Linked DNA regions of Homo sapiens: regions 2 and 3 are each linked to region 1. The links are contacts of gene promoters, found by promoter capture Hi-C in blood cells and fetal thymus (Javierre and others, 2016). All regions are on one chromosome and are shown on one strand. Each heading gives the region's core, a stretch centred on a gene start or on the middle of the fragment in contact. The rest is flanking DNA. Distances are from core to core; before and after follow the strand shown.

Evidence for each region. Contacts are between HindIII fragments. The CHiCAGO score rates a contact against its expected background, and 5 or more counts as called.
Region 2: a contact is called between a fragment that was not itself captured here and the fragment with the promoter of TRAPPC3L in region 1, in 4 of 17 cell types (naive B cells, total B cells, monocytes and 1 more). The highest score is 11.0, in naive B cells.
Region 3: the fragment with the promoter of ZUP1 here is called in contact with the fragment with the promoter of TRAPPC3L in region 1 in 10 of 17 cell types (fetal thymus, non-activated CD4 T cells, total CD4 T cells and 7 more); the score reaches 7.2 in fetal thymus.

What each region holds. Positions count from the first base shown.
Region 1 is chr6:116,543,483-116,547,081 of GRCh38, reverse strand. TRAPPC3L (trafficking protein particle complex subunit 3L) reads left to right here and starts at 1,398. Exons shown (of 5, transcript NM_001139444.3): 1 at 1,398-1,609. The coding sequence starts at 1,568. It also overlaps a transcript of CALHM4 not described here. The HindIII fragment of the contact is 9,007 bases long and covers 1-3,599 here.
Region 2 is chr6:116,463,003-116,467,014 of GRCh38, reverse strand. It overlaps CALHM6 (calcium homeostasis modulator family member 6), which reads right to left. Exons shown (of 3, transcript NM_001010919.3): 3 at 3,244-3,732. The coding sequence ends at 3,310. It overlaps CALHM6-AS1 (CALHM6 antisense RNA 1), which reads left to right and starts at 3,311. Exons shown (of 2, transcript NR_174951.1): 1 at 3,311-3,396. The HindIII fragment of the contact is 176 bases long and covers 2,535-2,710 here.
Region 3 is chr6:116,667,081-116,670,679 of GRCh38, reverse strand. ZUP1 (zinc finger containing ubiquitin peptidase 1) reads left to right here and starts at 1,914. Exons shown (of 10, transcript NM_145062.3): 1 at 1,914-2,114; 2 at 3,473-3,599. The coding sequence starts at 3,488. RefSeq lists an enhancer at 1,890-2,079 and a silencer at 2,841-2,990. The HindIII fragment of the contact is 3,066 bases long and covers 1-2,158 here.

The DNA of each region.
Region 1 (3,599 bases), core at 149-2,648:
TGCCAACATCCAGATAACCTTGAATACATTTCTCAACCTCTCTACTTTTAGATTCTTATCCTGTAAAATGGCCATGATTACAGTACTATTTCACAGATTGTATCTGAATTAAAATGAGATGAAGAGAACGAAAACCATGTTGTAAACTGTAAATTTGATATACATATAAGTCGTTATTATTTGCTACTGAAAAACTCTCCACCCCATACCCCACAACTAAGTGAAATTAATTTTCCTGAGATCATAGTGTCATAGAACATATGCAGTGATGGAAATGCCTTAGGTATTGTAGAATTCCATTCAATTTATCCAACCACAAGAATAACCTATAGTAACTAGTTATTATATGGTGCATTTTAATGTGTTTTACGGTACGCCTCGTCTCTTTGGTTCTCACAATTATTCTGTGAGGTGAGTGATATTGTTGCCATTTTGCAAATGTGGAAACTGAGTCATAGAGCAATAAAATGGCTTGCCCAATGCCACACAGCCAGTAAATGGTAGGGCTGCAACAGCCTGAGCCTTCCAAATCCTCCTAGGTTCTTTCAACTACACCACACTTTTCGTCAAAGTATTCTTGAGTTTGTCACTTTATAGCAAGAATTTTCCAGAACAAATAGGACTAATGGACTCAAACTATAAGTAGAAGAAAATTACTTTCCTAAACTGAGTTTTCCGCTTCCATTTCTGGAAAGATTTTGATCCTACTCTGCACCCTGCAGTTGTCAAGGTGAAAGGATTTTTTTATTTGAACTTTAAGTATTTCTGCGTAAATAAAGAGAGCCTTCAATAGCTTACGTCTCAGGAGCTCTCAAAAGAAAGCTAAGGGCTTACTTTCTCTATCAGAATCATTATACATTATGATACTGTAGAGCGCCCATTTTGAACAACAGTTTTGTAAGAAAATATTGCCCATTCTATCACTCCTTAATGTTGTTGATTGCTGCTAATGAAAAGCAAAAAAGTTACCAGATATATTTGAATACTGTAATCACACAAGATAGGGATCTATGGTTTTGGGGACAGTGTGATAACCATTGGTGTAGTTGAGGGATCACGTTTTAACTCAGGATTTATTACCTACAGATTGCTGATCTTGTCTCTCTAATTCTTACAACAATCAATCCAAGACTGAATAATGCTAACATTTAGATCTATCTTGGATTGCGAAGGTTTCTGTTTCTGATTTTAAAACAATGTCTTGGCCTGAGAACAAAACACCACTCTTGAACTCCCTCGGGCTAAAGAATTTTTTGAGTTGCAGTGCTTCAGGTCTGACTTCACATTATCAGCTTTTATGGCTCTAGATTACAATTCATCCTTACAAATGAAGCAGTTATTTGATCCATGGCAAGTTACGTGGCTATAAGACAATCCTGTTGTTCATGGTTTTTTTCCCTCTTCAGCTCAGCAAAGAGCAAAAGCAGCAGAGTGCAGAAGCAGCACTCCTGTCTCAAAGCGAGGAAGAGCTTACAAAAACAAAACAAAAAGACATGGACTGATACACCTCTAAGAAACAGGCAAAAGAAGAGAAATTGAAGATCATATTCTTCATCTATCAAGCACTATGTCTCGCCCTGCACACCGAAGACCAGAATACCATAAAATAGTAAGATCTTTCTACAAAGAGATTTTTTCTACTTCAGAGAAAATGTTTTCTTGAGTGATTTCTGATTGATTTTAAAAACTGATGCTATAAGAATTTTTAGTGGAGGAAAGACAGTGTTCAGCGAAGTGAATCATAAATGACACATCTAGGAATAATTATGATTATCTCCTACATAAAGAATAATCAATTCTTTATACACACTTTAAGGTCTTCTTTTCTGACTAATTATATCAATATGAGTGTCAATTTTTTCACCTCTGACAGAAAATATGAAAATATTAGCAATTTTTTCTATTTCATACTTCAGGAAATGGGAACTTACATATATATGTATATGTATATATATGTATGTATGTATATATATATGTGTGTATATATATAGTTGATTATGTGTAAAACTGAATCGAAATAGGTCATCAAAAAAGGATTGCCTTTAAAAATGTTTCCTAGTCTTATTGTAGCTTGGTATGTAATATCATCCTTTCTATATATTCCAGGTTAAGAGTTATTTATAAACCTTATTTTTTTGCAGATTAGTTTTAAATAATATTCTTTAATACTCTCTTATAGTTTTAGTCACTCAGATACTACAGATACAAAAACTCACTGTTAACTTTAAAATTCTGTTAATTATGTCAGGAGACTGATGGGCATTTGATATAATTAAGTAATTTCAGACTTGGTGTTTAGAATTGTAGTGACTAACTAGCATACTTCAGTTTGAAATGCCTGCAGATACCTCCTCTGGCCTTCTGGGATCTTGATTTATTTTCCTGTGGGACTCTCAAGTGCTAAAAATATATGGTACATAGTTCATATTATACCGAAATCACTTGATTTTATAAAGCAGTTAAAATGTATTTTTATCCTGATACATTCATAACCTACTGAAATAGTTAATGATGTTCTTTCAGATATTCATATGATTATTTTTATTGTTTTAAAAACGATAAAGATAAACTTATGTTGACCTTTCCTGGCATCTGTGGTATGGATTTGAGACCCAATTGAACAGATAGTTCAAGGTACAGTCCTTGGCCATGAAGCAGAATAGAGAAAGCTGGCCTTTATGGGTACTGAACCAGAAACTCAGCTGGAAATAAAATAGATTTCAATATATAATAGTGCCCACCCATCAGGGACAGAGAAGAAATTCCACTATTTCAGTTTGGCCTTAATTATAAAGGGACACAATGTTGGGGCCATGGCATGTAGGTAGGGTATGATTTTTTCTACTTTTCTCTTTTTCAAATTCTTTTGTTTTACTGCTAGTCACAACAATCTCATCATTCTCTCTCTCTCTCTCTCTCTCTCTCTCTCTTCTTCACCTTTGCTTATCTTTATGCTGTAGCATTAGTACATGGCAGCACTTTGTCTTCTGCTGTGGCTCTTATATGTTGAGCAGACTTTTCATTGATAATTTACCAGCATTTCTTGTGATTTATTATTAGGTTCTTGGAAAAACCCTAAGCCAAACCTAAATTGTCTTAAGTTTTAGTTTTCATTTATAATTTACTCTAAAAATGGGACATATTTTGGAGAACTATAAGGAAATATCACATTCCCCTTTTTTCTCTAAGTAAAAAGAAAAGAAACTCACAAATTTGCTGCTACATTTGGGTTTATCCTGAAGGTCTCCTTGGCAGATCTGGGGGCCATTAGGGATTGTGCAGACGCCTGAGAAGTCTTATCCAATTCTTGCTTCCAACTGAAAACATGGATGGCATATATTTTAGAAAAACAGAAATTTATGTTAGAAATTAGTATTTTTAAAAAACTGTCCTCCATGAAAATACATTGCAAGTTATCATGTAAGCAAATGCATAGAAAGATGTTATCATGTTACGAAATTCATTTTATTTAACAGCTCTCTCTCCCCCACCTCACATCAATGTATCCAAATGTGAATATAATTTGTTTTCAAAAGTGCAAATTGTTGCAATAATAGGAGGAAGGAAAAAATGTACAGGTGACTTCTAAGGCTACTTCA
Region 2 (4,012 bases), core at 1,373-3,872, 81 kb after region 1:
AATGTGGTTGTTTTTCAGCAAATATTAATAGCAGATTCTGCATCTGAATCTCTTTAAAGGTTAGGTGTTCAGGATAGCATAAAGCTGGGGGTGATGATGAAGAATCATTTGGTAAACCAGCAAATAAATACATACTGAGTGTAGAAATGCTTCTTCAGCCAATGATGCAGCCTGTTTGGGCCAGGCCCAGAGGAGTGGTGACTTCTGCCAAATAGCAGTGACCTTGTTCCCACCAAGAAATAACTTACTGTGTCTCAGTCTCACCATGTTTATTCAAAGTGGTCTTTCCTGTTAGTAGTTGCTGAGTTTCAAGATAAAACGTCAAATATTGAGGGTCACTAAGGAGATCTGTATCTCTTCTGCCCACAAAGTCACATGGGCTAGGAAGGGAAAAATCTGACCCAGTAATAAAAACAGCCAGTGGCCACATTAAACTACATCATCTAGGGAGGATCCGTACCCTACCTTTGGTTTTGCCTTTATTGACATGTAACTTTGGATTAATGATGTAACCTCTTTAACTTTCGATTCCCATTTGTAAATGTGAGTGAGGTGTTTCACGGGTAACCTGGAAACTTGTTAAAATGAAATGAAATAAAAGATGCAAAACTGCTTTTTTGACTGTAAAACTCTACACCAGGGTAAGGTTACTTTTTAAAAATTTCCAATTATACATTTAATATTTATTATTCATTACAACAACTCCAAAGATCAAAAGTGCATGAAATTAAAAAAAATTCCTGCACCAATCTTAGTCCTCAGAAGGGACCACATTTGATAATTTAGTGCTTACCTTTCTACACTTTATGAATGTGTGTGCATGTGTGTGGGGGCTGGTCGGTGGGGTTAACAAAAAAGGGATAATATCCTACTAACCAGTAAAATACTAAGTAGCAATTTTTTAAATGAGGTAAATTGTCAGATACTGACATGGAATAATTGTACTTTATGTGTAAAAGTTACAGAACAACACTTATGATAGAGTTTATGCAGACACAGAGTTTATACATGGCTACTTCTGAGAAGAATATATTGCAAAGGAATGAGGTAATTTTATTTTACTTCTCACCATTCTCTACCATTACAATTATTTTCTTAAGCATATATATTTTCACAATAATTATTAAGGACTGTGCAAGAGGAGGTGGAGCATAAATCAAAACAATGGAGACAATATGATACTACTGAAGATGCAAGTATAAGTGATAGAACATAAAAAAAGTTTTGAAAGGAAAGAATATACAAAAAGATATTGGAGGCTGGGCGCAGTGGCTCACATCTGTAATCCCAGCACTTTGAGGCTGAGGCAAGCAGATTGCTTGAGCCCAGGAGTTCGAGACCAGCCTGGGCAACATGGTGAAACCCCATTTCTACAAAAAGTACAAAAATTAGCTGGGCATGGTGGCACATGCCTGTGGTCCCAGTTACTCAGGAGGCTGGGGTGGGAGGATCACTTGAGTCAGGGAGGCAGAGTTTGCGGTGAGCCAAGATCTTGCCACTACACTCCAGCCTGGGTGACAGAGTGAGATCCTGTCTCAGACGAAAAAGGAAGCAGCAATTGGAAAATGAAATAAAGGAAGTAAAAATGAAACTAGGTATGATATGATTTTCAAAAGCATTCTTTTAGGGAATGAAAAAAAGCTGATCACGCTGTTTCTGCTGCCAACTTTCTTGTTACGCATGACTCTCAACAACAGGATATTCTGCCCTGTAGGTTAGTTCTTTTTAACGGCCTTATGCAGAAAAAGGTAAACAGAAATCAGCATAAGCTTCTGCCAAAAGAGGAAGAAGGGCTAAATATGACCAGTGCTCAATTATTTTATAGTTTAAAGTTTTTTTATCTCATATTTTAAAATTCAGAAAACAGCCACAAATTTGGGGAATGGGCAGGAATGACAAGCTAATGGAAGGCAAGGATCGCTGAAAAGTCCCGGCATTATAAAGTTACAGAATTTTATCCGTAGATATAATTGCTCTCACCGTCTTTAGAGACTTTCTATCAACAAATCCTGCCACATCTATGTACAAAGTCTACCTTGAATCTATCTACTTTTTCCATTTTGGTCCCCATCCACTCAGTTCAAGTTCACTCCCACCTATTTCCACTGTAGTGGCCTCCTGATTAGTCTCTCTCCTTCTACCCTGGCTCTCCTGCTTCCCATGTCATTCCTTTTCTCTCAAGGAAAGCAAACCATCTTCCTAAAATGCTCATATGATGAAAACCAAAATCCTTCTCATGGTTTCCAGGCACTGCACACTCAGTCCCTTGCTCATTTTTTTCAGTCGCCTTTCAGGTTTCCAACTCTGCTAACATCTTTTTCTCCCTAGTCTTTGCACATACTGTTCCTTCAGTAGGACTGAAATGCTCCTTCTTGCTACCCTACAGGATTCAGTTTTCAAAAAGTTTCCTCAAATCCCTTCTCCCCTAATCTAAATCAGGTCACAATTTGCATTTCTTTGTATGGTATTGGTTTTATCTGTATGACTGAAATGCTCCTTCTTGCTACCCTACAGGATTCAGTTTTTAAAAAGCTTCCCCAAATCCCTTCTCCCCTAATCTAAATCAGGTCACAATTTGCATTTATTTGTTTGGTATTGGTTTTATCTGACTTCCCAACTCTGTTGAAGCTGTGTAACAACTACTTGGAGGCTCATAAAACTATCCTCTCTACTTTTGTGTTTAGTTTATATTTACCATAACATATAAGCTTTAACACTTTTCCTCTGATCCTATAAACTAAAAACAACACTTGTTGCCTGCAATTCTCTTAACTACTTTTTCAAATTTCGTATTTTACAAAGTTTATTTTCCTTTTCATGATTAATTTATTATTGTAACCCTATTAGAGTCATAAAATGCTCTAATTTTTGAATGACCACAGCAGGCTCGACTAGAAGCCCAATGTGCCATCAATTGTGCTATAGAACCAGCTAGAATGCCGTAATTTTAAAGTTCCTAACAAGATGTTGTGGGCAAGAAAATGAACTTGAAATTAACATCAGATAACCTAACAGAAATGTCTGAAGTTCAATTGTTCTGCCACTGTTTTTGCTCCAAAAGTCTTTTATTTGAAAAGGACTCTAGAACAAGGATATAAGACTTCTTTTAGTTCTAGCTTTTACTTTGGATGAATCACTTTCTTTTTTTGTTTGTTTTAAATAATATTATAAAGAGGTTAAGCTCTATATTTTAATTTCAGATATAAAATTCCACAATTTGGAAGAAAAAAAGCACTCAAAAAATACCAATGTTTATTTTTTAATAAAGCAATAATTCAAAACAATTTTTTTTTCTACTCATTCAAAAGGTCATAACTCAGGAGTGCTGTTTATACCAGATGAATCTACAAAGCCAAGAACAGGAATCACCGTATCTCCTTCAGTAGACCTGATACTGTGAGTCTTCTCTTTTCTGTTGACATATTTGTGCAACATGCTGTAGTACTGGCCCTTCGGATTGAAAGTATACAGTGATGAAATTTGCTGCCACTCTTTCATGCTTGGAGTGTTATATTCTTTTGGATGCGAGCCCTCAAAGAAACATTTAATATTCTCTTTTGCCAATTCAGTTGCATGCTCTGTGGCTTTACTTTTAAGGATCTGCTGCTCCTGTTCCAAATAGATTTTCCAGAATTTCAGCTGCAGAAAACTAACTGGAGATAGGCATCGGGTGACAGATGTAAAAATCAGAAGAATGATGATAACAACTGCTATCAAGATCCAGCCCAACACCTTAAGAAAACACAACAAAATAGTAATTTAGTTACTTGGTTTTTTACAAGAAATTTAAAAATCCTCAGATAAAGTTTCAACTACTCGCCAGTTATGATGATGAACAAGCAACAGTTTTAGGTCTTAATTCCTTAAGAGTAAGGTGTCGCAGTAACCTCCCTAGCCCCCCAGTACAACTTCTCGTTTGGAAAGTCAACTGTAGTCCAAGTTATGCACTATGATTCTGCCCAGGGAGGAGCCCATACCATTCCCTTAGAACTCAAAATGTGGAATTTCTGCA
Region 3 (3,599 bases), core at 665-3,164, 120 kb before region 1:
CTCCTATTTAAATACCTCACTAGTTTTCTACCAGGTCCTACATGATTTGGCCCCTGTCTACAACCCTAACCTCATCTTGTAATCATTTTTCTCCTTACCACATTATGCTCTGGTCAAAAAGTGTTCTTTTTGCTCCAGCCTTAGGCCTTCGTTCTTGTTATTTTATCTGTCTGAAATGCTATTTCCCCTGTTGGTGTAAGGTTTGTTCATCAGCACACTCAACCCTTCATCAAGACCTTTTCTAAACATTCGTATCTCTATAATCCAGTTTTCTTTTCTTTCTTTCTTTCTTTTTTTTTTTTTTTTTTTGAGACTCAGTCTCAAAAATCTATTGCTCTGTCACTCAGGCTGGAGTGTAGTGGCACGATCTCAGCTCGCTGCAACCTACGCCTCCCGGGTTCAAGCAATTCTCCTGCCTCAGCCTCCCGAGTAGCTGGGATTACAGGCACCTGCCACCACGCCCAGCTAATTTTTGTATTTCTAGTAGAGACGGGCTTTCACCATGTTGGCCAGGCTGGTCTTGAACTCCTGACCTCAAATGATCTGCCCGCCTCGGCCTCCCAAAGTGCTGGGATTACATATGTGAGCCACTGAGCCTGGCCAATCCAGTTTTATTTTCTTCATAGCACTTATCATGATCAGTTAATTTACTTTTTATTTCCTCTACCTCACCAGCATGTAAGCCTCAAAAATCCTGAATTTTGTGTATTTTGATTACTGCTGCAGCTCCTGTTGCAAGCAAAACGCCTTTCTAATAGACACTCTTTAAATATTTGTTGAATGAAATAAAGCCTGAATGACAAGATATTTGTGATTTTGGGCTAACATGGTGGCTCACACTTTGGGAGGCCGAGATGGGAGGATCATTTGAGGCCAGGAGTTCGAGGCTGCGGTGAGCTATTTTAGCCACTGTGCTCTGGCCTGGGTGACAGAAAGAGTCCTCCTCTCTAAAAATACATACATACGGCCGGGCACGGTGGCTCACGCTTGTAATCCCAGCACTTTGGGAGGCCGAGGGGGGCGGATCACGAGGTCAGGAGATCGAGACCATCCGGGATAACACGGTGAAACCCCATCTCTACTAAAAATACAAAAAATTAGTCAGACGTGGTGGCGGGCGCCTGTAGTCCCAGCTACTTGGGAGGCTGAGGCAGGAGAATGGCGTGAACCCGGGAGGCGGAGCTTGCAGTGAGCAGAGATGGCACCACTGCACTCCAGCCTGGGCGACAGAGCAAGACTCCGTCTCAAAAAATATATATATATACATACATACATACATACAAACCAAGATATTTGTTATCTTGTAACCTTGAGGAAAGAACCTGGTATCCTTTACCTTCGGTGCATAGCTGGGAGCTTGATACCTAGCAGCATTATAAACCCTTTATTGATACTAAAATAGAGTGCTACTCAGCAGGCCCTAGTGTAGACTGCTATTTGCCCCAGGACCTGCCCTGTGAACTCATTCAGATTAAGTATGAATGACCTCAGAGCCCGGTTTTCTCTCCTAGCAATTGAGTGGCAGGAAACTCGATGGGAGAAGGAAAAACTCGGAAATGGGAGGAATGCAAAAATGACTACATCTCTCAGGAGATCGAGACCATCCTGGCTAACACGGTGAAACCCCGTCTCTACTAAAAATACAAAAAATTAGCCAGGCATGGTGGCGGGCGCCTGTAGTCCCAGCTACTCGGGAGGCTGAGGCAGGAGAATGGCGTGAACCCGGGAGGCGGAGCTTGCAGTGAGCCGAGATCGCGCACTGCCCTCCAGCCTGGGCAGCAGAGCGAGACTCCGTCTCAAAAAAAAAAAAAAAAAAAAAAGACTACATCTCCCAGAATGCACTGCATAGAGACCGGCGTGGAGCGGCGCATTCTGGGATTACTTCTTTTCCGTGGGAGTAAGGAAGTGCTTTTGAATGAGGTACTGAGGGCCAAGGTGTTGGAAGTTCCTAATTCTTTCCTCGGTTAACTGTGAAACTCTGCGTATTGGGAAGGCCTGGCCTCAGTCATCAGGCCAGGAGAGGTACTGGACGCCGCGCACGCACTCGTCTGCCAGCGAGGCCCAAAGGGGAAGCCTAGCGGAGCTCAGTGTGGCAGCTGCTGGCCTCTGGGCCGGTAAGAATTGATGGTCCCCTCCCTTATTCCCCAGGCCCAAAGCTTTGACCCAGTTAGTGCCTGCTAGTTTCGTGTGCCTGGCTTGTGCCTTTGGCGCGGAACGTTTGGGAGACTCGGCCTTGCGGTCTTCTGACCTCACCCACCACGTACCTAGCTTGGCACTGGGTCCTTCATGCCTCTCACTCGCTTCCTCTGAGGCACCTGGGTACTCTCTTGTCTCTTACCCGCTTAATCTGAGTCCATGTCCAAGTTCATCATTCTGTGTCTGACCGTGTCCCAGCCACCGGAAGAGAAGAAACTCCGGGTGTGACATTAATCCCACTGGGGGCTCGGGAGAACTGCCTTCTAAAATCAGAGACTGTATCCATTTGTCTGGAGAGAAATGAAAAAAATAAGGACAATGTAGGGAGGTATTTTAAAGGTAAATTTATTTAAATGAAGTGATAGTGTCATTACTTTTCCTGTTTGATTTTAAATAGTCTTTAGCTGAACGATGACCTGTAGTAGGAAGGTGGTGGCGAAGTGATTGCTTTTTTTAAAATTATTTTTTTAACACTTTTATGTCAGTAGTCAGTACTTTATTTGTCCATAAAATCCAAAAATAACTACCTTTGGATTTTACAGTAGTCTTTGACTGAACCTCAGAGAGATGAGATTCCTTACCCAAAATGATGAATCTGAAATTATTACCCAGTTCTCTTGACTCTGGAATAAGTGCTTTTTTCTACTATACCACTTCTGCTTTTATTCTTGGGGCTGAGAGTACAGGCTGTGGAGCACGACGGGGTTGGCATTTTGGCTTCCACCTTTTTCTGCTTGTGGTGACCTGTCTGAGCCAGAATTTCTTTATGTGTAGAGCGATAATAATAGTACTTAAATTACAATAATAGCACTTAAATAGCACTTGATACATGTAAGACTCTAAGTTTACAGTGTTAAACTCTACTTGTAAGATGTGTTTATTTACCTCCTCAATATAATCAGCTTCAGTATTCAGTATTTAGATATATCAGTTGATAAATAGGTTTCTTCTCTTCATTTTTTTCTTACCTGATTTATCTTACCTGGACAATTTTTTAAACGTTATTTTTTCTCCACCTTGGGCCAGAGACATTTTTTGAAATATTTTATTTTTAAAATTACTTGTATTCATTATTATTGCCTTTTTTTAAAAAAAAATAAATGAAATTTTGGTTGATATTTATAAATAAGTTTTTGTATTTGAGGAACAGTAAGTACATTGAAAACTTCTTCATCAAAATAATCCAGCGTTAAAGACCAAGTAATTGTCTCAAATCATTTTATGAAACACATTTTTTCTTCAAATCTTTGAAACCTAATGTTATGTTCTTTTCTAGCTACTTGTCAATACCATGCTTTCCTGTAATATTTGTGGTGAAACAGTAACCTCAGAACCAGACATGAAAGCTCACCTAATTGTTCACATGGAAAGTGAAATTATATGTCCATTTTGCAAGTTGTCAG